Linked DNA regions of Homo sapiens: regions 1, 2, 3, 4, 5 and 7 are each linked to region 6. The links are contacts of gene promoters, found by promoter capture Hi-C in blood cells and fetal thymus (Javierre and others, 2016). All regions are on one chromosome and are shown on one strand. Each heading gives the region's core, a stretch centred on a gene start or on the middle of the fragment in contact. The rest is flanking DNA. Distances are from core to core; before and after follow the strand shown. Region 1 overlaps THSD7A (thrombospondin type 1 domain containing 7A). Region 2 overlaps THSD7A (thrombospondin type 1 domain containing 7A). Region 3 has its middle 380 kb from the start of ARL4A. Region 4 overlaps THSD7A (thrombospondin type 1 domain containing 7A). Region 5 overlaps THSD7A (thrombospondin type 1 domain containing 7A). Region 6 holds the start of TMEM106B (transmembrane protein 106B). Region 7 overlaps THSD7A (thrombospondin type 1 domain containing 7A).

Evidence for each region. The method cuts DNA at HindIII sites, captures the fragments that hold promoters and counts their contacts. A CHiCAGO score of 5 or more calls a contact.
Region 1: a contact is called between a fragment that was not itself captured here and the fragment with the promoter of TMEM106B in region 6, in 3 of 17 cell types (M2 macrophages, M1 macrophages and monocytes). The highest score is 6.8, in M2 macrophages.
Region 2: a contact is called between a fragment that was not itself captured here and the fragment with the promoter of TMEM106B in region 6, in 3 of 17 cell types (M1 macrophages, M0 macrophages and M2 macrophages). The highest score is 12.0, in M1 macrophages.
Region 3: a contact is called between a fragment that was not itself captured here and the fragment with the promoter of TMEM106B in region 6, in 1 of 17 cell types (total B cells). The highest score is 5.6, in total B cells.
Region 4: a fragment that was not itself captured here is called in contact with the fragment with the promoter of TMEM106B in region 6 in 1 of 17 cell types (monocytes); the score reaches 5.1 in monocytes.
Region 5: a fragment that was not itself captured here is called in contact with the fragment with the promoter of TMEM106B in region 6 in 1 of 17 cell types (M0 macrophages); the score reaches 5.5 in M0 macrophages.
Region 7: a fragment that was not itself captured here is called in contact with the fragment with the promoter of TMEM106B in region 6 in 1 of 17 cell types (monocytes); the score reaches 5.4 in monocytes.

Annotation. Positions count from the first base shown.
Region 1 is chr7:11,477,980-11,481,853 of GRCh38, forward strand. THSD7A (thrombospondin type 1 domain containing 7A) reads right to left here. Exons shown (of 28, transcript NM_015204.3): 7 at 3,809-3,874. Among named protein-coding and RNA genes, the nearest start is that of THSD7A, 350 kb to the right of the region's middle. The HindIII fragment of the contact is 1,999 bases long and covers 1,186-3,184 here.
Region 2 is chr7:11,431,639-11,435,607 of GRCh38, forward strand. All of the region lies in intron 13 of THSD7A (thrombospondin type 1 domain containing 7A), which reads right to left. Among named protein-coding and RNA genes, the nearest start is that of THSD7A, 400 kb to the right of the region's middle. The HindIII fragment of the contact is 4,062 bases long and covers 558-3,969 here.
Region 3 is chr7:13,062,664-13,066,341 of GRCh38, forward strand. No RefSeq gene overlaps it. Among named protein-coding and RNA genes, the nearest start is that of ARL4A, 380 kb to the left of the region's middle. RefSeq lists a silencer at 208-408. The HindIII fragment of the contact is 260 bases long and covers 2,080-2,339 here.
Region 4 is chr7:11,461,865-11,465,658 of GRCh38, forward strand. THSD7A (thrombospondin type 1 domain containing 7A) reads right to left here. Exons shown (of 28, transcript NM_015204.3): 10 at 147-279. Among named protein-coding and RNA genes, the nearest start is that of THSD7A, 370 kb to the right of the region's middle. The HindIII fragment of the contact is 6,994 bases long and covers 1-3,794 here.
Region 5 is chr7:11,412,048-11,415,577 of GRCh38, forward strand. It overlaps THSD7A (thrombospondin type 1 domain containing 7A), which reads right to left. Exons shown (of 28, transcript NM_015204.3): 18 at 609-753. Among named protein-coding and RNA genes, the nearest start is that of THSD7A, 420 kb to the right of the region's middle. The HindIII fragment of the contact is 2,884 bases long and covers 1-2,878 here.
Region 6 is chr7:12,208,988-12,212,931 of GRCh38, forward strand. TMEM106B (transmembrane protein 106B) reads left to right here and starts at 2,307. Exons shown (of 8, transcript NM_001134232.2): 1 at 2,307-2,438. RefSeq lists enhancers at 1,706-1,855, 1,989-2,507, 2,066-2,115, 2,508-3,024 and a silencer at 2,296-2,605. The HindIII fragment of the contact is 6,470 bases long and covers 98-3,944 here.
Region 7 is chr7:11,496,172-11,499,806 of GRCh38, forward strand. The region is part of intron 6 of THSD7A (thrombospondin type 1 domain containing 7A); the gene reads right to left. Among named protein-coding and RNA genes, the nearest start is that of THSD7A, 330 kb to the right of the region's middle. RefSeq lists enhancers at 1,908-2,408, 2,409-2,909. The HindIII fragment of the contact is 5,403 bases long and covers 1-3,635 here.

The DNA of each region.
Region 1 (3,874 bases), core at 935-3,434, 730 kb before region 6:
AATAACATCCAATTCCAATGCTGTACCACAGAGTGTACTAGTTTTCTTTCCTAACATATTTGCAACTCTCTTCTCCAGCAATAAAAAAACCAACTCTCACTATGTTAAATACATGTACTTATTTTGTCAATTCCCTCTCACTTCACACTCCATTACCCATTGTTATCTCCATTGCTATACCCACAAGATATCTTCATTACTCTGCTCATGATCTGACATCCTACATGAGGCCACCCACATGACAGAAACACTCCTCAACTGTGTCTGGCTGTGACACCCCATACTGGGCTGGCCACCTTGATGCTGGAATTCTCTCTTGACCCAGCTATGCTCTGACATCCAGTGTAGAGTCACTCTTCTATCCTCTCATACAACCCATGTGCCCCCTGTCCTTCACCCTGCTCACTGGCTCTGAAAATGCATGCCAGGCCACCTCTTTTCCCACTTTGGTTGCTCCTCACCCAGTTGGGCTCTGACAACCCACTCTAGATCACCAACAGACCTCCTATCTGCTGGCACAGATGCCCAGCTGCTTGGCTTTACCAAATGGCTTTTTGGATAGAATTGTTCAGGAAAGGAGAAAAAGAGCCTAGCAATAAAAGGAAGTGAAAGAAAGGAAAAGGAAAAGCAAAAGGAAAAGCAAAAGGAAAAGAAAGAAAAGAAGTGCAGTATGAGGAAGAGAAAGTGCCATTCTATCATTCTGTCATTCATTTAAGAGGAACAAAAATAATTAATCCTAACATTTTCACAATGTTAGGAGCCCTGTTTTATCTACTGGATTGGGGCCATCGATAGATAGATACATACATACATATATACACACTGATACACAATAAGAACACTGAGTAAATCAGGGGTAAGAGTACTAGTCAATACTCCTCTCATTTTAGCACACAATAGGATTATATTTCCCTCATTCGCCTTGAAGTTAGGCATAGTTATACAACTTACATTAACAATGAAACGTGAGAAATGACATAAATCACTCTTAGATGGGAGAATTTACTTGCTGATGCTTAAAATCGACAGATAGATTCTCCAAGTATTTTCTTCCTCTGGCACATGAAGATTGTGGAACCAGGTCTTCATATGGTGATGCAATATTGTGACATTTCATGAAGGACAAATTGCCCTGTAGAGTTACCCAAAACTGTAGCTAAATTTCCATGAGGAAGAAGTAAATAAAGCTTTGTTCTTTAAGCTCCTGAATGTCTGGGCTGTCCATTACTGAAGCACAACCTAGTCTATCCTTATTAATTACAAGGAGTTATCCAGCCTTCAGTATTGTTTAATGGTGGCATTCTGATTAAGATAAGTGAAAGTATAGGTTGGAGCATTTATTTCATAAATCCAGATCTACTTTTCGCATGGACTTGTCCTGTATGTTATTTCCCTAGAAAATCATATAATTTCTTGTTTAAACACTTCATATATCATTTCTCAAATGTGGCACTTTCCTTTAAAGTTATCACAATCAGTGTCTGATCCACAGAAATTTAAGAACATTTATGACACAAAGCACTAATTCTTGAAGAATAATGGAAAGACTGACTTTTGTGTAGAATTACAAAGGATTATCTAAGTGGCAGAGAAACACATTTTAAAACTTCCTGCAGATGCTGTTCCTAAATCATTAAAAATAGTTCAGAATTAGGAAAGATTTATTTTGAGTAAGAGAAAATGTGTTTCAGTGTCCAACAAATAATAGGTACTAAGTAGGCTTTGAAGTACAAATTTCTCATAAAACATGTTTCAGTGTCCACTAATAGGTACTAAATAGGCTTTGAAGTATAAATTTCACATAATTATACCAGCTTTTATAAATGTTATTAACAGAGGTAAATAGCAGCAGAGACAAATAGCATTGACAGAGTTTCTTTTATGGCTTCCATGTTTTACAATAATGTATTATATATTTCAAAATAGCTGGAAGAGAGGATTCTCTATGCCCTTGCTAAAAGAAATGATAAATGTCTGAGGTGATAGATATGCTAATTATCTTGATTTGATTATTACACAATTTATCCATATATTGATACATCACACTGCACCCTATATATACAATTATTACACGTCAATTAAAACAGAACTATATTGTTTTGAATTAATGCCCTTATGATTTACTATATAAACATCTATAACTTTCCAGCATGACTTGCTTATAATGCAACCACTAAACTTAATTAAAAATTATTGAAGCCCTACCCTTTCAAACTCAGTGGATGATACATATCAAAGAGCAATCACAAATTTCTGCCTTTAAAACATTTCATGACCTTTCCGTGTGAAGCATCATGTCTACAGGAATAATGATCTGGTGAGTTCTGCAAGCATGGCAAAATCCTTGCCATGTGACTCGGGGTGGGGTGAAAAGTCATTCATTAGTAGTCACACAGCAAGTGTCTGCAGAGTATAATGAATTTACAGGAAGCAGGGTGACCACAGATCTAATTTTAATGAAGCCCAAGGCAAAATCTGAGCTGATAGAGTTTAAAGCCTTCATACAATCTTCACGAGGTTAGAGTCATTGTTTGACAACACAAGAAATATAATTTTCTTTGTAAAAGGTTGTATTTTTCAATAGATACACTTTTTTTTTGGAGCAAAGAGTTAAATATATATTAAGGTGGTAGGAAAAAGTTTTTGAACACTATAAAGAAAATTCTAAAATTTCACACAGGTTGGCTTTTCTGTGTGTAAAATGTTTTACGCATGTAACACTCATGTGCAAAGGCCAAGGTAATTATAGGTGTGCACAGTTGTTACACACACAGATAGCAAATTTGACTAGGAACACTATGTTTCTATCACTAAAATACTTCATGAACAGAAAAATAGAAAAAGTATAGGCAACACAAAACTCCCCCCAAATCGATAATTTGGGGAAAACATAAAATGTTATGCTTATTACAAATAGAAATAATTATTTATCAGTGCTAAATGTGAACAAAGAGTCATTTAGCTTGATAATGTTTAAATAACATACACTTATATTCTTGAGAAAGAACATGCCTTAATATGAACAAACTTGATTTACTTTTATGCTTTTCTCACTCTTGTGTTATTTTTCAGAAAGACAAGATTAAGTATGACATTATATTACCCAGTCACACAGAAGCCAAATTAGCATTTGGATATCATCTTGAGAGACAATTACCAAGAGCCTTGTATTTCTTGGCAATAAAGCTTGCAAGTGAGGTCTGAATATGTGACAAACATGCTTTATTCACCCTATAGGGTGAAGAGATTTAGGAGCAACATATTTTAAAAATGAACAAAATTTACATATGAGATTTCTGGACCTCGGAGCCTATGTTCAAGAAACTCAAAGAAACTGAAAATTGCAATTTTTGGTCGAACAGTAGCTATTCTTGTGATTTTAAATAAACTTTATGATTGGATATATATACTTATTTATGAGAAGGTAGAATATGATTTTCAAAAGATAAAACTGACTTCTGAAATTCAGAAAAAAACAATGAAACATCTGAAATTTTGGGAGCCATTTTCAGACCTTCTTAAAGGCCTAACACTTTGGTTTACAAAGAACTCTAATGACTGGAAGGGTGGGAAAAAGCAAAATGAGTTCACTTTTAAAAAGTCTTTCTCCTTTGTTAGAGATCCATTTTCAAGATTAATTTTGGGGGACAGAATCAAATTGCTCAACACATCAACAGATATTAAATCTTGGATGGCTGAATTTCTGGTTGTTGACTTTCATAGAATATCATCTTTTCCAGGCTACACAAAAAAGATGCACACTAACTTTTGAAACGAACCTAGATGGCGTCTGAAGCTGGCGACTCACCTTCTTCACCCGCATAGGCCAGAATGGATCGTGCTCGTATCTGTTTCCCTTCTGTCGTTTTCCCTG
Region 2 (3,969 bases), core at 1,339-3,838, 780 kb before region 6:
TTCGTTTTTCCTTTTAAAGATAGGTTTGGCTATTTTGAGTCAAACTTCTATATGCATTTTAGAATTAGACTGTCAATTTCTGCAAAAAATTGCAGCTAGGATTTTGATAGGAATTGTGTCAAATTTGTTGATCAACTTGGAAGCACTGCCGTCTTAATTCAGACACATGGAATTCATTTCCATTTATATAGATCTTTAATTTCTTTCAATGATGTTTTGTAGTTTTCAGTGTACAGGTCTTGAACTTATTTTGTTATATTTATTCCTAAGTATTTTATTCTTTTTATTGTAGGTGGATTTTAAAAAGAACCTACCAACATTAATTTCTTTAATTAAAGGAAAGTCAGACCACCTTTAAACCAAAATGGCAAATTTAATCTATAAGATTGTGCCCAAACTGTCCTGTATTGAAAGTGTTAAAATACTAATTTACTATACAGTATTTCCTAGCCTTGCCTAATCATAAATTATCTGAGACACATGTTAAAAACATAAGCTTCTACCACCCTCAAGTTATTGACATTAATACAATCCATAGCACTTACTCAGGTTTCACAAGCTTTACTTTTAATCATTTGTGTGTGTGATTGTGTAGGTCTTAAGTTAGGAAGTGCTACTATAAGATACAGACAGAACCAAAAAAAATGGAAGATAAATAGATTTCTGGCATATCTTTTTATGTAGTATCTCCTATACATTTGTCAAAGATATTTGTTTTAAACTTCGTATTGTAGTCTTCATATGCAAAAGTGCATTTTCCATAGACGTAAATTTCACTGAACACACCCCTGAAATCAATAGTCCAGAACTCTCCTCCGTATTCCCTTGCAGCCACTGCCCCTTCTTACAAGAGCAACAACTATCCTGACTACTCACTGTGTAGAATAGTTTTACTTTTTAAAAATTTCATGTAAATCGAATCATATAGTTTATATCCATTTGTGCTAGCCTTTTCACTCTACATTGTGATATGCGTTTTATCTACGTTGGTGCATATTGCTGAATATTGTTTATTCTGGTTGATGTGTAGCATTCTATTGTGTGAATATACTATGACTTGTTTATTCATTCTATTGGTGGTGGGCATTTAGGTAGTTTTCAATATGGGGCCATTATTAACAGTGCTGCTATGAATATTCTAGAATGTGTCTTTTGATGGACATATGTATGTATTTCTGTTTGGTGTACTCCTAGGAGACAAATGGATAAATTGGATGGTATGTATATTATATTATCCATTGTAAATGAAGTATAAAATAAATTTTAAAAAATGGGATCACAAATTTGGCATGAAGATTAGGATACAATGAAAAGTTCTGAAAGTGGGCATTAGTCCCAGATAATCTTCTGGAGGGCAGATGTGGCAGAGTTGGGATTTTGTTTGTTGTGAGACATAGAAGACAGAAAGAAGATGCCACTGCTAAGTTTCTAATGTACTTCTCATATATTCAAGATGACTTTTGGAGTATCGATAATGATCCAGAGGAAAGTCCAACAAAGAACTAAAGGAATATTTCACAGTAGTGTTACTGAAATTTTAAAATAGATTGCAGTGATCTACTTAAATCTTACATTTTGACTTTAATTATGCTTTGGGGTGGAGAAATAAGCCCCTTCATGATTCTGAGTTGAAATATACTTCAAATGCCTTTTTTCCTACAGCTGAGGCAGTAAATTAATTGACCTAAAATAGTATGAGATGCCCAAAAAATAACTCTTCTTATTTTAGGGCCAGTAATCACTTATTTTCTTTAAATAAGTTATAGTTTAATAAATACAATCAAACTTTAAAAGTATCTAAAGTCATTTCCAAATCAATGGCATTATGACCAAATCATTTAATAATATTTGTAAGACTACAATGAATTAAGAACCATCCAAATCATTTCCAAATATTATCAATGGCTTTGGCAAAAGAGCACTAGTATTTCAAAGGTAATAAGTTATTTCAAAGGAAATATTTTTATAAGAATTGCATTTTCCCACCTTGATAAACTGCAAAATGTCTCTCAAAAGTAAACCTCTAGGCTTTTTTAGCTCAGTAATTATAACTGAAAATAGAATCACCTGGTGGCCTTACATGTCACTACCCCACAGAGTAACAGATAAATGGAAAATTGTTTTTGATTGAAATATTATGGTTTTAGTAAGATTTAACATGTATGACTTCAGACTGATTCACGTTGTGTTATTAAGGAAGGAGATACAAAACTTTTATGTCCGATTTTCCAATAGCATATTCCAGAAAACATCTCTCAAATAAAATGCAGCCTATTAAACTGTTAAAAGATAGATGCAAATTAGAAACTGAGATAAAGATAAAACTGCAAAAGCGTATATTGCCTAGCATATCAATTTTATTTTCCAATGTCTGACAACATTCACTAATTGCCTGTCATGTTTATCTAGCACCATTAAAATCCTTAATGCTACTAGTGAACTGCTAGAAAAGCATTCCCCTGCCTTCTCTGCTCAGATCATTTTTTAGGGCAATTAACACCAAACAATCATGGGGGATGGAAAGAAAGAAAAACATTTAGAATGTTTTAAGGCTAAATAAACTGCTGGCATCTTATAGCAATGTATGGTTTCTGAGGATGCTAGGATAAAATAAATGACTTCACAATTAGGATATTAAAACTTTCAGCAGTTCAACACAGAATTTGACGCTTGGAAAAATTAAACTCCAGACTTCTGATTATATTTTTGACTGCTGCTTTCAGGTTGAAATAAATACAAAAGACTAGCAGGCTTAAAGTGGCAACTGGAGGACATATTGCCTTTGAGATACACACAATCACTCATTCATTTGAATTATGAATGTGGAGATAAAGTAGATTTCAACAACTTTCACAATTACTAAATTGTGCTGCTGAAAGGAATACTGTTGATGGATCAAAGAATTCATTTTGAAAGCACATAGAAAATACTGGTTGCTTCTGATTTATAGCTGTGTGAATGAGTAACTCTGGCATTCTCTCTGAAACATCTGGATTAATTTCAAAAGCAACCTCAAAAAATCTCTTCTACTTAATTGTGTATTATATTCACTTGATTGCAACTGGGAATGAGAAAATGTAGCTAGACTTTTATCTATTGTGGTCCTCACAGGCTGGAAAAAGTTGAAAAAAAAAATCATTTTGCAAAAACTTTCCAAACGGACAATATTCTTGAGCAATTATATATTAAAAACTGGTGATCTGATACCTGGGGCAACCAAATTACTATGTATATATATCCAAACTCCTATATTCCAATGTTCTACCCGTTGTATATTTGATGGATGAAAAGTTATAAATCAATATTAGGCAATTAATTATCATAGTAAAGTACCCAGGCAAATTTATAGAAGTATAATACAATATTATTTTAATTATATTTATTCATTTTATATACATTTGAAAGCATATGTATTCATATCTGCTAAGTATTTATAAATTTTCACAGAAAATTTCAATATCAGTATGAATGGCTGTGAGGTTTTGTTATTGTTATTTTAATACTGGGAATTTACTCAATGACCACGCTTTTTCAGATTCATTGAGTGATATCTATGTACAAGTTCATTACCAAGGGCGTTTCTTACAGCAAACTCTAAAGGCTTCTCTTGTATAATAAAGAATTTGCCTGGCCCTTGGCCAGGTAGGTCTCTCGGCCCTGAAATTTCACTAGTGATAGAACTATCTATGTTATTCATGGTGGGCTCCTCAGACTACTTATGATTTTATGCTGTAAGGATATCTCAGGAAGGGGCTGGTCACACCGGAGAGACCAATCATCTGATTAGAGAGTTGGAGCTTTGAGCTACATGTTATCTGACCACCTTTAAGACGAGAGAGATTGCATTTAACCACATGGCCAATGATTCTTCAGTCATGCCTATATAATGAAACCTGAATAAAAACTCTGGATACCAAAGCTCAGGTGAGCTTTCTGTTTGGAAATGCACATCAGTGTGCTAAGAGAAAG
Region 3 (3,678 bases), core at 960-3,459, 850 kb after region 6:
ATGTTGTGCCTTGTATTAGTGAGAATCTATTGCTTATATAGAACAGAAACACTCTCAGCAATCTCCAGAGTTAATGATTTATTATAAGGGTGCAAATGCTAAAGCGGTAATAAAGATGAGTCAGGCCTTGAGATCCAAAGAATAAGGCATTGTGAGAGAGCAGGAACCAAGGTATCAAAATGGGAAATTGAAGTTAGGTAGAGATGTTGGCATCAAGAGGTTGTAAATCTTTACTCTTAACACTCTGTTGTTAATGAGCTCCAGCTACCCTTCTCATCTCTGTTGCCCCAGACACCGTAGAGCGCGTAGCTCATTTTTCCTAAGAAGTGGATGCCTTATCTTCTGTCCCAAATAGCTTGCCTTGTAAGTTATAACTTATGCGTATTCATGACTTCAGTTGCTTCAGGACTCATCAAAGCTCTCGTCCGAAGGCCTTGCTCTGTGTATCTGAATAACTTCAGCTCCCACTGCTTATATCCTTCCACTTCAAAGTCAGTGCTGAAAGAGAGAATGCAATTGATCTGTCCTCTTATCACTGCACTTTACTGTAAGGTGGGCTAAACCACCTCAGAGGCTTCATACAGTCAACTCTCATTGTGGAGGATGGGAAAACAATTGTAAATTACACGATAGAGTTGCTTTAAACTTCTTTCTTTACAAAGTTCTGATGTGCAGCTGTTTCTCTTGGAAAAAGCTTGTTTCTGCAGTAACGTGATGATGATTCCAGCCTCTTCTCAACTTAGTTCATTTGGGCAACCCCCCCACCGCCCCTGTACACTTTGTTGAAACTACTCTTGCCAGGGTTATCAATGATCTCAATTTTGCCAGATAAAATTATCATGTTTTGGCTGGGCGCGGTCGCTCACACCTGTAATCCCAGCACTTTGGGAGGCCGAGGAGGGTGGATCACGAGGTCAGGAGTTCGAAACCATCCTGGCCAACGTGGTGAAACCCCATCTCTACTAAAATACGAAAAATTAGCTGGGTGTGGTGGCACTGCCTGTAATCCCAGCTACTCAGGAGGCTGAGGCAGGAGAATCGCTTGAATCTGGAAGGCGGAGGTTGCAGTGACCCGAGATCGTTTCATTGCACTCCAGCCTGGGCGATAGGGCAAGACTCCGTCTCAAAAAAACAAAACGAAACAAAACAAAAATTACCATGTTTCATCATTCTTCATCTTATTTGTTCTTTCTGTAACAGATTAATTGACCATTTTATTCTTGTTGAATTTTTTTCTCCTTTTCAGAACTCTGCACTACCTTGGTTTTCCTCCTATCTACTAAGTAGTTTAGCTCAGTCTCCCCTGCTAGATTCTCCTTCTCTGCTGACCCTGGAATTCTAGGACCCTAGGCTTAGTCTGAAATCTTCTGCTCTTCTCGACCTATATTCTTTCTTGAAAAAAGTCTTTTCCAATTCTCTAAACATCACCTATATTTAAAGACTTACAGATGTATATCTCTAGTTCTAAATCTTTCCTCAGTGACAAACTCCTACTTGACATAGTCACTTGAATTCCAGTAGGCTGGCTCACATTAAATATGATCAAAACTGTATTCTTGATACTATGACCAAACCTGTTCTTACTTGCTTCTCTATTCCTCCCAGATGCTCAAGCTCAAAAGAAGCAAAGAAAAAAAAGAACACTTAAACAGGCAAAAAAATTAAAAAATTATTCTCATCTCTCATATGAAATCAATCAACAAGTACTATCAGCTGTGTCTCCAAAATAATTGTCTTTCTTTCACCCTTCACTGCTGCCCCTTAGCCCAAACAACTATCATTATCCACCTTACTTTCTTCAATGGATTTTTTTAACGAATCACTCCTTTTTTTCCCCATAATCTATGCTCTGCAGCCAGAGTAATAATTTAAAATGTGATTAAAACCATGTCACTCCCTGAATAAAAATCCTCCAATGGCTTCCACCTCCACTTAGTGAGAAAAGGAAAGTACACAAACTCCAGCATATTCTAAAAGGCCTTACATTATTTGTCTTTTGCCTCTATCTCTTGCACCTCATATCTATCTTACCATACTTTTCCTTCCTTCACTTTCCTTTTCTGCTTTTCAGTTGTAGCAAGCTTATTCTTCCTCCAAAGACCCTTTAACTTTCAAATCTGTTAGATCACCCATCATGTCTTCAAACGCTTGGCTCTTTTTTCCATCCAGGTTCAGCTCGGGTGTTAATCTCCTGTGAGAATTTCTCAGCACATCCAAATAAAGTTACTTACCCTAGAACTATTACTTATTTTTGGTTTTATTGACTTCATATTATTTATTGTGTTTGTGTTAATTTATTGGTTTACTTATTTATTGTCTGTCTCTCCTACTGGAACGTAAGCTTCACAATAGAAAAAGGCTAATCCTTCATTATCATTTTATTCTTCATTTTCATTGTCTAGAGCACCACTTAGTATATGATAACAATTTAATGAGTATTAGTTGAATGAATAATGAATCATTTGCTGCATATTGAAAACACAATGAGCATTTGAGTATCAACTAATAGTTGATACATAACTATATTTGATTATCAACTATTTGAGTATAAACTGTGCTTTAGGTGCTAAACATATGTTATCATTAATTATTAATTATTCATCTATTCAATACATATTTATTAATTACCTAAATAAATGTCTACCAAGAGGAAAAACTATCATCTGTACTCATAGGTGACTTGTTCTCTAATGAATACACTAGTAGGCCAACAATCAAACATAATGATGCAATTGACATGATGGAATAAGTTAAAAACTGGCATAAACATAAATACATGATAGCATAGACTCATACATTTGTCTGCCTGTGGTCGGTAGCAGAGATACCAAATAGACATTTTTACTTCACATTGACAGCCATAGAAATTAGTAGGCAACCCATCTTGGAAAGGACATTCCTTTTAGGTAGAGAAGGCAACTGAAAGTGCTTTGGATGTATGACTGTAAAGTGCAGTTAGTGAATTATCAGTACATTTTGGAATATTAAAAGAGGAAACAGTGTAAGTAGATAATTCTGGAAGAGTAGGCAGAAACCAGCTTATAAAATGTTTGAGAATCTAATCTAAGGAGTTAAAATATTCCCAGGTAGGCATTTCTATAATTCAGTATTTCCCAAGCCTTTTTAAAAAACAATCCTGGCTGGGTGCGGTGGCTCACGCCTGTAATCCCAGCACTTGGGGAGGCCGAGGCAGGCAGATCACGTGGTCAGGAGATCAAGACCGTCCTGGCTAACACGGTGAAACCCCGTCTCTACTGAAAACACAAACAAAAAATTAGCCGGGCGTGGTGGCGGGTGCCTGTAGTCCCAATTACTCAGGAGGCTGAGGCAGGAGAATGGTGTGAACCCGGGAGGCAGAGTTTACAGTGAGCTGAGATCGCGCCACTGCACTCCAGCCTGGGCGACGGAGCGAGACTCTGTCTCAGAAAAAAAAAAAAAAAAAAAAAAAAAATCCTAACCATTGTTTTTTTTGAATCTGGAAAATTATCCTGAAATTATTTTTGTCATATAGCTTAAGAAAAAAAAAAGTGAGCAACAATTAGTTTATTTTGAAAAATTCCATGAAAGCTTTTGATATTTTGATGACAATATTGGTGAAATTAGCTCTTTAAATTTGTAAGAAACAGCTTTGAACCACAAACTACACAAGTTTCTACATGGTTAACATCCTAATTCTTT
Region 4 (3,794 bases), core at 796-3,295, 750 kb before region 6:
AGAATGGCAGCTACAGCCATAAACATCCCAACTCCATTGAGCCTGTGGAAGGAACAGTGTTGACTTCCTTTCCTTATCCTAGGAAAGGATGTGGAGTTGACGTATTTGTTCAGCTCCTCCCTCACGATGCATTTCTCTAACCCTACCTGTAGCTTTGGCACGCTTGAGGTGCCTCACAGGCCTTCTCTTCATAGAGGGGATCTGTGCAGTCTCGGCCCCCGTTGGCTGGCAGCTGAATGATGACCCGATGCCTAGACTGCTTCCTGATACTGGAGTCCCCTGCAATGAAGCAGTTTTTTAACCTCTGTACTTTACACTGATGAGATAATCTCTAAATACCAGTCTGTGTGAAGAAATTACATTGCCTCCAGCTACATGTGCTTTGACATCCCTGAGAGGCTTCACCTGGTCTAAACATTCACTAAATTCTCCCAAAGACCATTTATATCAAAAACCCAATCAATTCATATTTAAAAATAGAGAAAATGTGAAGAATGGAGAAAACAGTTCTGTAGGCAGTTAGCCTTCCTAAGGTGCAGTCACAAAGTAATTGCTCTTTTGTATAATTCTTTCCCTTGAGGAATATGACAGATCTAATTAATTTATTTTCCTCTACCTTAAATTCATTGTCATGCTATTTTGCCTAGCCCTGTTTATCACATGGGACTCATACACATGTAATGAATCTTCTTTAGGAGAATATATTCAGTGCTATAATGTGAAATTTTATTTCTTTGTTATTCATTTAATTTGAAATGCATAACTTGTAAATTATTCCGGTCATTTATTATTCATGTTAGACAGTCTAAGACCTTCAATTCAGGTCACATTCTAAACATTAGGGATCTAAGTAGTAAAATGAAAGTGGTTTCTTAGAGGCAGACACAGACTTTTTAGAGAAGCAGTCAAAATAGCAATAATTACTATAAATAAGTAACTCTAAAGTATGTTAAAAATGGAAAAAATTAAGATACACTTTCAATAAAGACATCAACTTGACAGTATGACTGATGTAAGGATTCAAAAATCTTTTAGTATACAGATCATGTAGCGTATAAAACTTGCCAACTTTAATAAAATATATTTCAATTAAGATTACGTACACTTTAACGATGAATAGCTGCATGGCACAGGGTTTTACTTACAAAATAATTCTCTAAAGAATTATGTTAATAGAATCCTCCTGATGCATTTTCATTATTTTGCAAGATCTTCAAATATTTCATACATAGACTACAGGAACAGAAATATTTTAAAGGATTAGCAGCTCCTAACAATTAATGTTTAATCAGAAATCAAATGAAACCTTTTTAAAAGATACTGTGGTGGTGGAGAAAGTATGATTTGATGATTAGAACATTGCCATAATGGAATATCCTTTCTCATTCAGTCAAAGATATTCTTCAACACGGTCTGGGCAACTGACTCACTGCCATGTTTAGAGAGGATTTCTGTATTGGATGGGAGAATGGATCAGTAAATGGCTGACTTCATAGGAGAATCTCTTTAACAACAACAACAACAAATTTCTGGGCCTATACCCAGGACTACTAAATCAGAATCTGGAAGCTGGGTTTGGGAATAGGATATTTAAAAATCTTGCCAGGTATTTGGGATGAAGGGCCTGGTTTGAAATCTACTGTAATACACGACCTTGTATGACCTATCCCAATGTAAGATTCTGGGCTTACATGTAACTTTTTAGAATTATTATTCCCGTTGTGGGGTGTCGTCTGTACTATTAATGATGGCATAACTATTTTAATGAATAAGCGGGATACTACAGGTAATGGAGTAGGGAATTGGGGGCTAGAAGTATTGGGCAGCAGAGAATTAAAGTATTTGAAAATATTGTCATGGACTTTTAATTGTAGCAGTAGTTTGAATGCCAGCTGCAACTTTTACATGTTAAATATAATTTATCTAGGGAAGATCTAAGAAATGTCAACAGGACTTTTAATAAATTGCTAATGCAGTCTCCATCTATTATATTGTCAAAATGACCTGTATTTTAAGGCCCAGGTGATAAATTCCTTTAATAATTCAGAGCTAGGGAAAATTCTGTCTCCCTTGACAATCTGTAAAGAATCCATTGTACTTCTATTTTTTGCTTTGGTCACCAGAATCTCAGAGCTAATTTTCTTCTCAGTTGAAGGAGCTTGCCACAGCTTTGATTTTCTAGCATAATTTTTCTCTCCCTCTTCCTTCTACCCCCTTCCTATTCACTACCTGGATTTGCCCTTCTTTTACAATTTCTATTTTTTTCTTTTGTTTTATGTGTATGAACTGTCCATAATCTTTTTTTTTTAAAGTATACAAACTAATTAGACTCACATTTGTTTAACATTGGGGGAAGCAGGGAGGTTTCTGTTTTGTTTTTTAATGGGGAGGTAAGACGTAAAGGGCTCAAATGGGTTTTTGTTTCCCAGTTGGTCAAAATTCTTAGAGGCAATTACTCTCCAATCTGCAGATAGAGGACAGACACAGGATTAAGACCAGGGGATTTGGGGGCTGGTGGAGACAATGAGTTCAGCATTAGTGGCACCTCATAGACTAAAGCTCCTACTTATTAACTACCTAGATGGCACCTGGTGCATAGCCAGGGCTGTTCTACTTGAGGAAGCAGCTACCAAACATTAATGTTTCAATTCTATTTTGTTTGTTGATTTGAAAGAAAAAATGTCACTTAGAATACATTTCTGAAACATTCTCCTAATGCCTTCTCATCACAAACTCCACAAATTAGTACTAGATATATAAGACTATGATGACTCTCTTCACGTCCTTAATGGATTCCAGAGTGGCAATCCATTTATTCTTATGAAAAGTTCAAATTCCTTAACCTGGTACAGCCTACAGGATAGAGATTGTGACCTGATTCAAGTGGAACTCTTCAAAGATATGACACCCAGAGAAGACGTTTAATGGGGTTACACAGGAAGTGTCAATGACATCTATGTTTTTACCCATTGGCAGGTCTGTTTCTTCTCATATTGCAGTTAAGAAATTGCTTGTGTACTCAAAGTTACAGCGCTGTAGAGCTTTGCCAGGTTATACAGTCCTCAGATCAGAGAGCAGAAAAAAAGGAAGCTATACAGCACACATTAAAAACAAAAAATGAAAGTTTCATCATTAATAACTTGAGCTGGCAAACTGGGAATTTTATACCTTTCATCATCCCCTGCTTGTATTTATGCTCATTTTATTATATGCGGTTGATATATTTGTAGTGTTTCTATTCATCTGTGTGTTTTATACCTAAGACAAGAGTCACATATAGTAAGTGCTTAATAAATATTTGCTGAACGCACAAACACATTTATTTCACATCTTCTCAACTGGATTATTAGTTAGCACCTTCTATTTCTTTCCACTTATTCCTTTATAGTGGTAAGCGCACAGGTACCAATGCTGTGCATTAAGGATTAATAAAAATAAGCTATCACTTTGTTTTCATTGGAAATAACAAGTACGCGAAAAATAAGGGCACCTGCCTGTGACGTTTGTGCTTAAAAATGCCTATCCAGGATAGGAATGGAAAAAACAGATCGTACATCTAGCAAATAATCATGTGATGATGGGGTACACAGATTCAGAAGATATGTAATCTCTCACACAGTTATAGCATTTTTTCAGATATCTTAAGACATTCAAAATAAATTTCACCGAGAAATTACTTGATGAAAAGGATTTAAAAGGCAGGCAAAACTGATTCATTAAACTGGATATGGGATGGATTGCAGGTTGAAGCAGTACAGTAATAGGAAATTGAAAGGGAAATGTCTCATCCAAGA
Region 5 (3,530 bases), core at 187-2,686, 800 kb before region 6:
CGTGTTGCCCCAATTCATATAAACCAATAAAAGATTTTCTTTCCTAGAGTATGCACCTTGATGGTATTAAATGAGTTTTAGGGGAAAAATGCAACTTATAATAAATCTGTTTTTCTGAAAATACTCATCAATTTTTACCTGCACCTTTTATAGCATTGATTTATAATCTTTGGCAAGTTTAAGATTGCTGACTAATCATGTTTATAAACTGCCCACACCTCATGAATTGTTGCCCCAGTATGTTTTAGCAATTAAGCATCTTCTGAAAAAGAAAGACATTTTTGAATAAATCTGATACCTGTGCCAAAAATATTTTAGATTCACCTTCCCGAAGTGAGAGGTTGTCTTATGTAGGAACACTTAGTATATTCACAACCTACTTTAAGGGCTAATGTCTGTTGACATTTTTATTTCCTCTATCTTAGTGTTTACTAAAAAAAAAACCCAGATAAGTATTTCTGTCATTTAATATGTAATTATTTCTGGGAAAGTAAGCAGCATATCCAAAAGGCACACAGGTAGAGATGAACTATACTGACAGGAATGCTTCAGAGCTGACAGACACAGGATTTGGACTTAACTCCGTGATCAGATGATGATCCATGTACCTGTTACATTATAATCATAGTGGTAGCAGTTTTTGTTCAGGTTACAGGGTTCTTTCTCAACAGCATTAGGGCAAGATCTTCCTTCATCAGCTGGTTGTCTGATGGGATCAGCTGACCTTTGCCGGAAACTGCTTTGATTGCAAGGCTTAAAAAGAACAGTACAAATTCTCAGAAAGGTGAATACTCAGCTACACAACTGGTATATTAGAGACAGCACTGGAGCAGGAGTTAGAACATTTGGGCCACTGGCTAACTCAGAAAAGTCAGTCAACCTCATTATGCCTCAGTTGTTCAATGTATAAAATGAAGGTGTTGAATGAGATTTTGATGTACCATCTAGCTATAAGATGCCATGTGTCAAATGTTAATACACACATCACCTCACACCTATACACAGCCACACATATGGTGGTCATATTAATTATTATGCTATTATATATATAAAGTTATATGTGTATTATTATATATATAATTATATGTTTGTGGATTACGTATAGTCTTTTGGGCCTTAAAAGACATTTTAAGAATAACTTTAAATGACTAGGTGTTAGTGACTTTCCTTTTCCTGATGCACACATATACATGCATATAAACAATTCTAATTCTAAATCCTAATTTTAATTCTTAATTTAGAATTGAGAAAAAAAAATAAAGTTCTAAGACCTGCAACTGACCAAATGGACCCCCTCTTGGCCATAGGGACCACAGAGAAACCTTGAAAACTGAGTTCTCGGCCTTTAGGCGTTCTTCCGTAAGGGTTATACAGAAACAAGCCCTTTGGAAAAACTCACTCTGCACCTGATCAACCAATTGTCTTGAAACTGCCTTTGCAAAAATTATAACAGTAAGAAAATTATGGCAGTAAAAGAGATCTGATCTAACCCACCTTCATCTCGCTTTTCTCTTAGTTATTCCTGGGTTTTCGGGGTGAGCTAACTTCAAGAAACATTTACTTTATAGTTTAAATAACAGGCTTTTCCCCAAACCCAAGTGCCTTTGTAAAGCTAATGAAAGGCCATCAGGCTGGGAGAGGAGAGGAACCTGAATTCTGCTAAGGTGTAGACATAAATGATTGCTAGCTACTCCTGCAGATGACACCACTATAGTAGATTGGCCTTTGAGATATCTTTTCCATTTTTTTGCATGTCTAACACCCAGGGCTCTACCTGGACCTGCCAACCCAGTTCCTGTGCGCCCCTCAGAAGAATTCAGCCTGCAGGAGGACAGCTTTGACCCCTGTGATTTCATCTCTGCCCCAACCAATCAGCAGCAAGCACCCATTCCCTGGCAGTCCCACCCCTTCCCCCAAACTGCCTTTGAAAAACCCCTACCTAGGAGCCTTAGACAATATTGATTTGAGTACTAACTCCATCTTCCATGTGGCATGGCTGGCCTTATGTCTATTAAACTCTTTCTTTACTGCAATACCCTGGTCTTTATTTGTGCAGCAGGCAGGAAGAACCCCATGGGTGGTTACAGCCTGACACTGCCTCTCCCTTTTATGGTTGCAACAAAACAACCAACCAGCATTTCTTCCTAATAAGAAACCACTGACCAAGGAGTGGTTCTGGGTAGTCCATGGAGGATGTACAGTAAGGGTTTCTGTGACCTCTGTTTCACCTTTTGACATTAGAGCACTGAAAATCCCACCCTTGGATCATGCTAATGCCACCATTTTTGGTACGTGGGACACGAGGGGGCATAAAGCTCAATTGCACATGCATACTCTTTGTTTTTTATAAATATTCATGACTCCTCATATAGCTTATTAAATATGTATATTTGGCCACCCTGCTCAACACAAATTAGTTACTGTTCCCTTTCCATTCCCTAGAAGTGTCTATTTCTGGCTTCTGGCTGGCAGCTATGATTCCCAGCCTGTCAGGATGGCCACCCTGCAGGCTGCAACCCTTTATGAGATGTAAAGCTCTCCTTTCTAAATTTATGAACCTTGTCATTCTTCAGTTGACAACATCTAAAAAGACTGGCTTGCCATTCATCTACTGGTACAGTCTTCTGAAAACAGTTGGTTTCTAAGAACAGTAAGAAACCAGGAACAAGCCTCCATGGACTTTTTAAGGCCTAAAATAATTGCTTCCTCCTCCCCTGCTTCCGTTGCACTTTGGTCACACTGGAATAACACTATCTGTTTTGACATAATGTGTATTATATAAAGGTCTTGTTCGTTTCTGCAGTGCACTAGGAGAGGACTTATGTTTTAGATAGCTGTATATTCTCCCTACCTAACACCGTTACTGATAGACAGTAAAAGCTTAGTTGGTATCTGTTTAATGAAGGCCTGAGTGAAGAAACAATGTGAGTTAAAGGTAAAACATGTCAAATTAAATTTAGGCTAACGCTGCCTCCTTACATTCAAGTTCATCCTAAAGGTTTCTTCACACACAGTGAACTATACCCTCTTTGGATGTGTAAAAAGACTGTAACCTACTCTTGTGCAATCACTGAGTTTCAAATGTGGCCAATTGTTCAAATCATGTTCAAATATGACAAATGTAAAGGAAAGTTTTTAAAAAAATCTCAGGATCTCATACTCCCTATGCAAAAGGGAAGCGTAAGCTTGGAGGCCGTCTTGCAACATTCTCTTCCAAATGAATAGCTATTGCTAGCATTGTGCCAGATTCCCAAGGAAAGATAAACGGCCTCGGGCATCATGAATAACTTGCTCCCATAGAAGATTCATAGGTAAATTCTTTCATGGCCTCCCACAAACAAGGACATACCAATTATACCAATTGTAACTTTAGGTCTACAGCCTAAGTCTAACTCCCAAAACTAAAGTCTGATTCCACACTGATGCTATCAATCACAAGCTTATTTTCCCAGGTTCAGAACAAAAACAAGAGGAGATCAGTCATTCTTCCACCTACCGAGAGATGCCTGCATAATTGATTTTTCCTCTAT
Region 6 (3,944 bases), core at 1,057-3,556:
TCCCAGACTGTTAAAATTACTGGCCTTTATATCTGATAGCACCTAGACCACTACTGAACTCGGAACTCAAGAAATCACTGTTAATCAAATAATTGGAAGCTTTTCAGAAAATTTTCCTTTCAAAATGTGCTTCAATGAAAAATAAGGCATAGGAACAAATGTACCAAACATTCAATATCTGTCTTTAAAGTACTTCCTTGTTATATGGATGATAAATTTGTAATCATAATATCTAATATTTACTGATTGCTCTGCAGGTATCAGCTCCCATCCATAACCCTTTGAGACAGACATTATTACTATCTTCATTTTGCAGATAATAAAAATTAGGTATAAAGAAGGCTAAGTATTTTGCCCACTCTTACAGAGATTTTGTATATCTCTGTCAGGCTGGGCTCATTTTCAGGCCATATGGCTCCCAAGGCTGTGTTCCCAACCCTGCTACTGAACTGCTTCTTACAGCAACATTCTCCCAGGAAGACTTATTCCTATGTGAATTCCAGGAATTTGGATAAGGAACTGTGCTATATGGCCAGCACGTTTTAAGTTAAATGATGAGGTTGAGAAAATACTAAATACTCCCTTAAGAATTAAAGAAAAAAGTAACTTTTTCACTTAAGAATAATATATATTACATTATAGAACCATTTGCCTATTTAACAATAATAAAGAAAAAACATCCATGCTCTCAAACTACAGGCAACTGTTTATATTTTGTATATTTCTTTCCATTTCAAGGCAGATATGTAATATATTTATATCTATATGTTATCTATATGTGAATATAGTTTACATCCTATTACAATACCTCATATCCTATACTTTGCATCCTGATTTTAATTTTATATCACTCCGCGTATAACAGCCTTATAAGATGGTTTTTACTGGCTTTATAAAAACTCAATAGATGGCTATTCCATAATTTTAAAAACTCAGTAATTCCAAGGGGAACATCATATCTCCACAGGTGGACTGTCAATAATTTTGAGAAAAATTTTCCCCCATGATTCTGATTTGTTTTAACCAACCTATTAATTTTGAAATTTCAAACAGTGTTAATGGAAGACACCCTGACCCTTCCCTTTGGAAAATATGGGCTAAATAAAAGCGGTTGAAAAATAATGATTTTATCAATGTCCCTTGTTGGACATTCAGTTTATTTAAATGGATACACCTCATACCCAAATCTTTTTAGAGTTCTCATTAGGTTTAGGATACTTCTGAAAGGGTGGAATTGCTGGACCAAACGATGTGAACATTTTAATAGTCTTGATACATACTGACTGTCTGCCAGAAAACTTAGGAGTTTTAAATCTCCGACAACATTGTATGAGAAAGCTCATTATCTCACATATGGATCTACAGTAATCCTCTTAAATTGTATATCGTTCTGACTTGTATTTCCTACTTTTACATAGCTTCATTTCCCAATTCCTGTTAGAATTCCCTGATTCTAACAGGATCACACTGATCCTGTTAGAAGAGAGAAATATATGACTCTCACTTCCTTGCTCCTGTGACTGTAAGAATGCCTACCATTCATTAAACGTTAAACTCTCCGCAGGAATGAGACTAGAGTGCCCTTAATATTATTACCGGCATCTCATTGATCCCTCAAAACGACTCCTTGTCGTTGTTCTTATCTTCTAAGTGAAATGACCTAGACGTTGGGGGAGGGCAGCCCCAACCCACAGCGAAGAGCTTAAGTACTGGGATCCGAGACGGGATTTCACACACCTGTAACTAGCACCAGAGTTAAGGGGTGGGGAGGGGCAGCGTGGGCAAAGCGAAACGAAACCGAGCAAAAACAAAAACTACGGCCTTGCCGCTTGCTGTCTCCTTCTAGTTGGCCAGTTTCTAAATTAAAATAGAGGTAGCTTTGCTGCTGTCAGCGGCGTGTGTACGGACCAGTTTATTCCATTCCTAAGGACCAGACTGTCAGCGACAACTCGCATTGCGTGAGCGAGGAGGCTGCTCAGCTGAAAGCTGAGGCAGATGGTGCACATTTATACCCTTTGCAAAAGGAAATGGTCTGATATGGGAAATAGGAGGAGCGACTGTTCCTAGGTAATTCGTGGCTACAGTGGACACTTTGAAGTCTGGGGGACGCGAAGGTAATGAAACCTGAAGAGCGCACAATCTCACACGATCGACGCCTCTGGGCTCAAACAGGAGGAAGAAGGACGCATGCGTCACGCGCACGCCAGGGGTGTCCCTCCGGGAGCGCTCTGCGCAGGCGCGGACGCAGGTTACAGCAGCGCTTGGCCTCTGCTGATGCCGTCGTTATCCTACCCCTCCCCCGTCCCAGCTCTACGGCGGCCGCGCGCTCCAGGCCGGTCGCTCCACCCCCCGGCTCCCGGGACTGTGGACTCCACGACCCTGTCCTCGGCCCTGTCCGCGCCGAAGCAGCCCGGGACTGCGCAGCGCCCCGCGTGCCGGTGAGCGACCCCGGACGTGCAGTCCCCAGGTCCCCTTCCGGAGCGAGGCTGAGCGGCTGCGCCGCGGCTTGAGCCGGGCCTGACAAGGAGGGGAGGCCGCTGGGGTGCTGGGCCAGCCGCAGGTACGGCGGCGGTCAGGGCTGGTGATCGAGTTGCTGTGTCGCCTCTAATGAGGCCCAGCCAGGGAACACTCGGCTTCGGCCCAAGCCCTACCTCTGGGTTGCCTCTAGGCCCTCACACCTTGAGCGCCAGGTGGCCCTCTTCCTTTTGCTGTTGATGAATGTTCTTGCCGTGGTGCCGGGATCTTATTTTGCAGCTTTACAGAGTAGGCTTTGTGCTAGGTGTTGTTTATGGAGCTTTTCAAAGGCGCTTGTTTCCTTAGTTCTCAAGCCCTTTTAGAACTAAAACCAGTGTCTACACAGAAGATCAGGAGCCATTTAAATTGGAGTGCTGTGATATATTTTTTCTCTCCAAACTGAGTCTGATATCCATGTTGACTTTCAGTAAACTAAGGAACCGCTATAATAAATAACACTGAGCCCACAGAGGTTGCAGAAGAGGGTCTAGCACCCCTTTTTTAAACCATTGAGTCTCCCAAGAATAAAAGTGGTTACACTTGTCAGTTCTCTAAGGAAAATCTAGTAGAGAAGGCAAGGGATTCCCAGTTTCTCACAGAGTCTGGCACTTGTCCAAACACCTACCCTAAAGCAGAATCGATCATGGCAGCTATTAGATTAGGACAGAAAACAGGCTCAAACGGAGAGCCACTTGAGTCTGCCTTTCTGTGTCTTTTTTCTCAACGCGCTCCAGTTAAGATGCAGCTTACAGCCTGGCTGTGTTGACTGAGATCCCAGAAAGAGTGCCCTTAAGGCCTTGCTGATAAGGCCCAATGATCCCAATTCATCTAGTGTTCCGCATAGACCCCAAGGTTACAGTGTGTGGGGACAGTGATGTTAAGTCTTCCCTATCCTACCTGTGGCTGACAGGTGTTGATTAAGACAATGATTTTTTAGAAGTCATAAATCATTTGTATTTTTGATGTGGGCAGTGATTTTTATAAATACATAGTTTTTTTTTTTTGAAAGAGTGAAAATCTCATTTTACATTTGTTTGCATACCATTTGTATAGTTTTTTAAATTCTGTTTATTTGAGTGACAGCAACAAGTGGATGGCATGCGAATTTTATTTATTTTTTTATCTTTGTATTTATTTTGTGTATATTCATGGAGTACAAGTGCCATTTGCTACATTGATACACAACATCCTGGTGAAGTCAGAGCCCTTAGTGCATCCAGCACTGGAGCAACACACATTGTACCCACCAAGCAGGCTCCTATCAGGCATGCCAGTTCTAGAAAGTAAAATTTTCTTCATACTCTAGGATGAACTGACTTACTTGGAATGTCTGTTTTGTTTAATCAAATAAGTGAGAATTTTTGAAAGAAATACTATCTGTCTGAATGTATGTAATCTATTTTTAGGAACCGCTAAAAGACATATCAAAT
Region 7 (3,635 bases), core at 105-2,604, 710 kb before region 6:
GTGTTTTACAGGATTTAGCGGATATAATTTTCCAACAACTCTATGAAGTAGACATGATTATTATACCCATATTACAGAGAAATAAAACCATGGAAGTTGATTAATGTCCCCAACTTTATACTATGCTGTCCCCTCTTAGTGTGAGAGACTAGCTTAATTTATTTGTCTTCTCTTGTGATTTTTCAATAATACACTATTGTATGTGGCAAGAAAATATGCGAGAGGTGATCCAGTTTAAGGATTAGGAAATGAGGCCCATAGTATGGAAAACACTTGCCCAAGGTTACACAAGTTGATGATGGAGTTGGAGATTCAGTGACCATATGACCTGGGGTTTAGGGCTGAGACATCCGTAATTTTTTTCATGTATGAGGCCAAATTATCGTTACAGAGATGATAGATATTCCTCCACAGCATTGTGCTCAACTATCTAATGCACTAAGGAACACAAATAAATTACACTTCTTCCAAGGGCCAGGAGCCTGTGGCTACGTAAGCTGCTTACACTAATTTTTAGAAGCAGGAGATATTATCTCACTTCTACAAGTAAGGAAACTATACAGATGAAATATAAAAGTGGCAAATTTCACTCAAACATGCAAAACATACAATGAAATGTTCTTGAAACAAAATAAACAAATGAAAACATTTAGCCAACCAAGGGTAGAACCAAAGTCAACAATCATTGAATCTAGGTAAATAAAGACACTGAGGCTAAAAAGTTGTGAGACTTTATTAGAGCAGACAATATAGATGTCATGAGTCCAGAAATTAAGCTATCCAACGTAAATCAATGTATTAGTCCATTGTCACATTACTATAAGGAGATACCCGAGATGGGGTAATTTATAAAGGAAAGAGGTTTAATTCACTTACAGTTCAGAATGGCTGGGGAGGCCTAAGGAAACTTACAATCATGGTGGAAGGGGAAGCAAACACATCCTTCTTCACATGGTGGCAGGAAGCAGAAGAATGAGAGCTGAGTAAAGGGGGAAGACCTTATAAAACCATCAGATCATATGAGAACTTACTCACTATAATGAGAATAGGATGAGGGAAACTGCCCCCATGATTCAATTACCTCTCAGCAGGTCCCTTTCACAATGTGTGGGGATTATGGGAACTACAATTTAAAATGAGATTTGGTTGAGGACACAGCCAAAACATATCAATCAATAAGATAATAGACATATGTTTGTTGAGATAGGCCAGATATTTTGGTGCATCTGTCAAATATAAAACTAATGGTATTGATAAAAATGTACCTCATTGCATTTCTTTAGGGGACATTAGGAATAAGGTAACTCCTGAGAAAGTAGTTCAAACAAAGCCAATTACCAATCCAATGTTGTTTCAAAGATATGGAAAACACTGGTCATTTTTTTGGTAAATACATTTTTTGGAGTATAATGTACTCTCAATAATCTTTAATACATAATAGAACTTTCCACTTGGAAAATGTTTATCTTAAGAATAACTGTTGACTAGTAGCCAAGATAGCCGACTAGAAGCAGCTAGTATGCTAAGAGCTGTGGCTCTCAGGGAGAGGAACAGAAGGGCAAGTAAATATAACACCTTGCACTGAAACTTCCAGGTACTTGCATTGGGATTAATCAAGGAAACAACCTGACTCACAGAGAGGGAAGAAAAACAAGACAAGACAATGGCTCACCTGGGAGCAACATGGAGCCAGGGGACCATCCCCTGCCCAGGGAAGTGATGAGTGAATAAGCGATCCCGGGAAACCATGCTTCCCCCACAGATCTTTGCAACCCTTGGGTTAGGAGATCTCTTTGAGAACCCACTCCACCTTCAGTCTTCAGTCCAATATAGCTATGTGGAGTCTTGGCAGAGCAGCCGCTCAGGCATGTGTGAAGACCCTGGAGCCTTAGATACTTGGGCCTTCTGGCAAAAGTAGCTGCAGCTCCATCAAAGTGGGAGCTTAGACTCCTGTACATACCCCTAGATAAGAGGCTGAAGCCATGGGGCTGATCCATAACAGCCCACAGACCCCACTTTCATGGCACCTCATATGATAAGACCCACTGGCTTGGAATCCCTAAGAAGGAGCTCTCAGAGAGAGGGGCGGGCTGCCATCTTTGCTGTTTGGGTGCCTTGGCCATTCTAGCCTTTAGGCTTTGGAGATGTGAAAGGGATCCACCAGCACAGTATAGCTGTGCTACCAAAATGTGGCCAGACTGCTGCTTTAAACAGGAGCTCAATCCTCTTCCTCCTCACTGGGTGGAACCTCCCAACTGGGACCTCCAGCCTCTCCTGCTTGAGCTCTCCAGTTGACAGAGATCTGAATTCCCCCTGGGACTGCACTCCCAGAGGGAAGGGTGGGCCACCATCTTTGCTGTTGGTGACTTAGCTGTTCCAGCCTTTGGCTATCTGAAGTGACCGGGGGCTGAAGTGGACTGGACCCCCAGCACAGCACAGCTGCTTTATCAAAACATGCCCAGACTGCTTTTTAAAGCAGGTCCTCATCCTATTCCTCCTCACTGGACAGGACCTCCCAACTAGGGTCTCCAGCCACTTCATGCAGATGCCTTTGGGTGGCAAAAATGTCCCTACTTCCCTGGGACAAAGCTCCTAGAGGGAGAGAGAGGATGCCATCTTTGCTGTTTCACAGTCTTCACTGGTGATACCTCCAGGTTCCAGAAAATCCGAGGTGACTAGGGACTGAAGCAGGCCCCAAGCATACAGCAGCAGCCCTATGGAAAAGTGGCCAGACTGTTACATGGGTTCCCGTTCTCATATCTCCTCACTGGGCAGGTCCTCCAAGCCTGGATCTTCAGCCACCTTGCACTGGAGTTATCAAGCCAGTACCAACTCAGCAACTCCTTTGACAGAGCCTCCAGGGGCAAATGAAAGCCTCTCTGCCACTGCCTCTGTAGTGGAACAGCCCTTGCCATCCTCAGACTAATGAAGGAGCAAAGACCCTAAGGGCCTTATCCACACCTCCAACAAGCTGCAGTTGACCCAAGGAGAGGCGGTCAGTCCAACTCCTGTGGGATCCACACACCCTTCATGGCTTGTCACCAGACAGGGAACTCCTGGCTTGGGCCCTCAGCACAAACCTTCCATCTTGGGCTGACTACACTGGGCATGACCTGCTGACTGCACTGAGTTGACATGCATCTCTCTGACTCTCAGGAGTCAAGCAAATGACTTGACCACAACCACTAATAAGATGTCTTCCTCTGTTGCCCCTAAGCTGAAGAAGAAATATAAACACCAAGATTTCCCTAGAGCTTCAGTGGGCAGCCTAGGAGTGCCAAGTTGTTCTTAACCAGACTCAACTGGCTGAAATGACAGAAATAGAATTCATAATACGGATAGGAACAAAGATACTGAGATTCAGGAGGATGGCAAACCCCAATCCAAGGAAAATGAGAATCACAGTAAAGCAATACAGGAGCTGAAGGACAGCATAGCCAGTACAAAAAAGAATCTAATGGGTCAGACAGAGCTGAATAACACAAGAATGTCACAATGCAATCACAAGTATTAACAGCAGAATAAAACAAGCTGAGAAAAGAATCTCAGAACTTGAAGACTGGTTCTGTGAAATAAGACAGTCAGACAAAAATAAAGAACAACTATTAAAAAGGGATAATCAAAACATCTGCGAA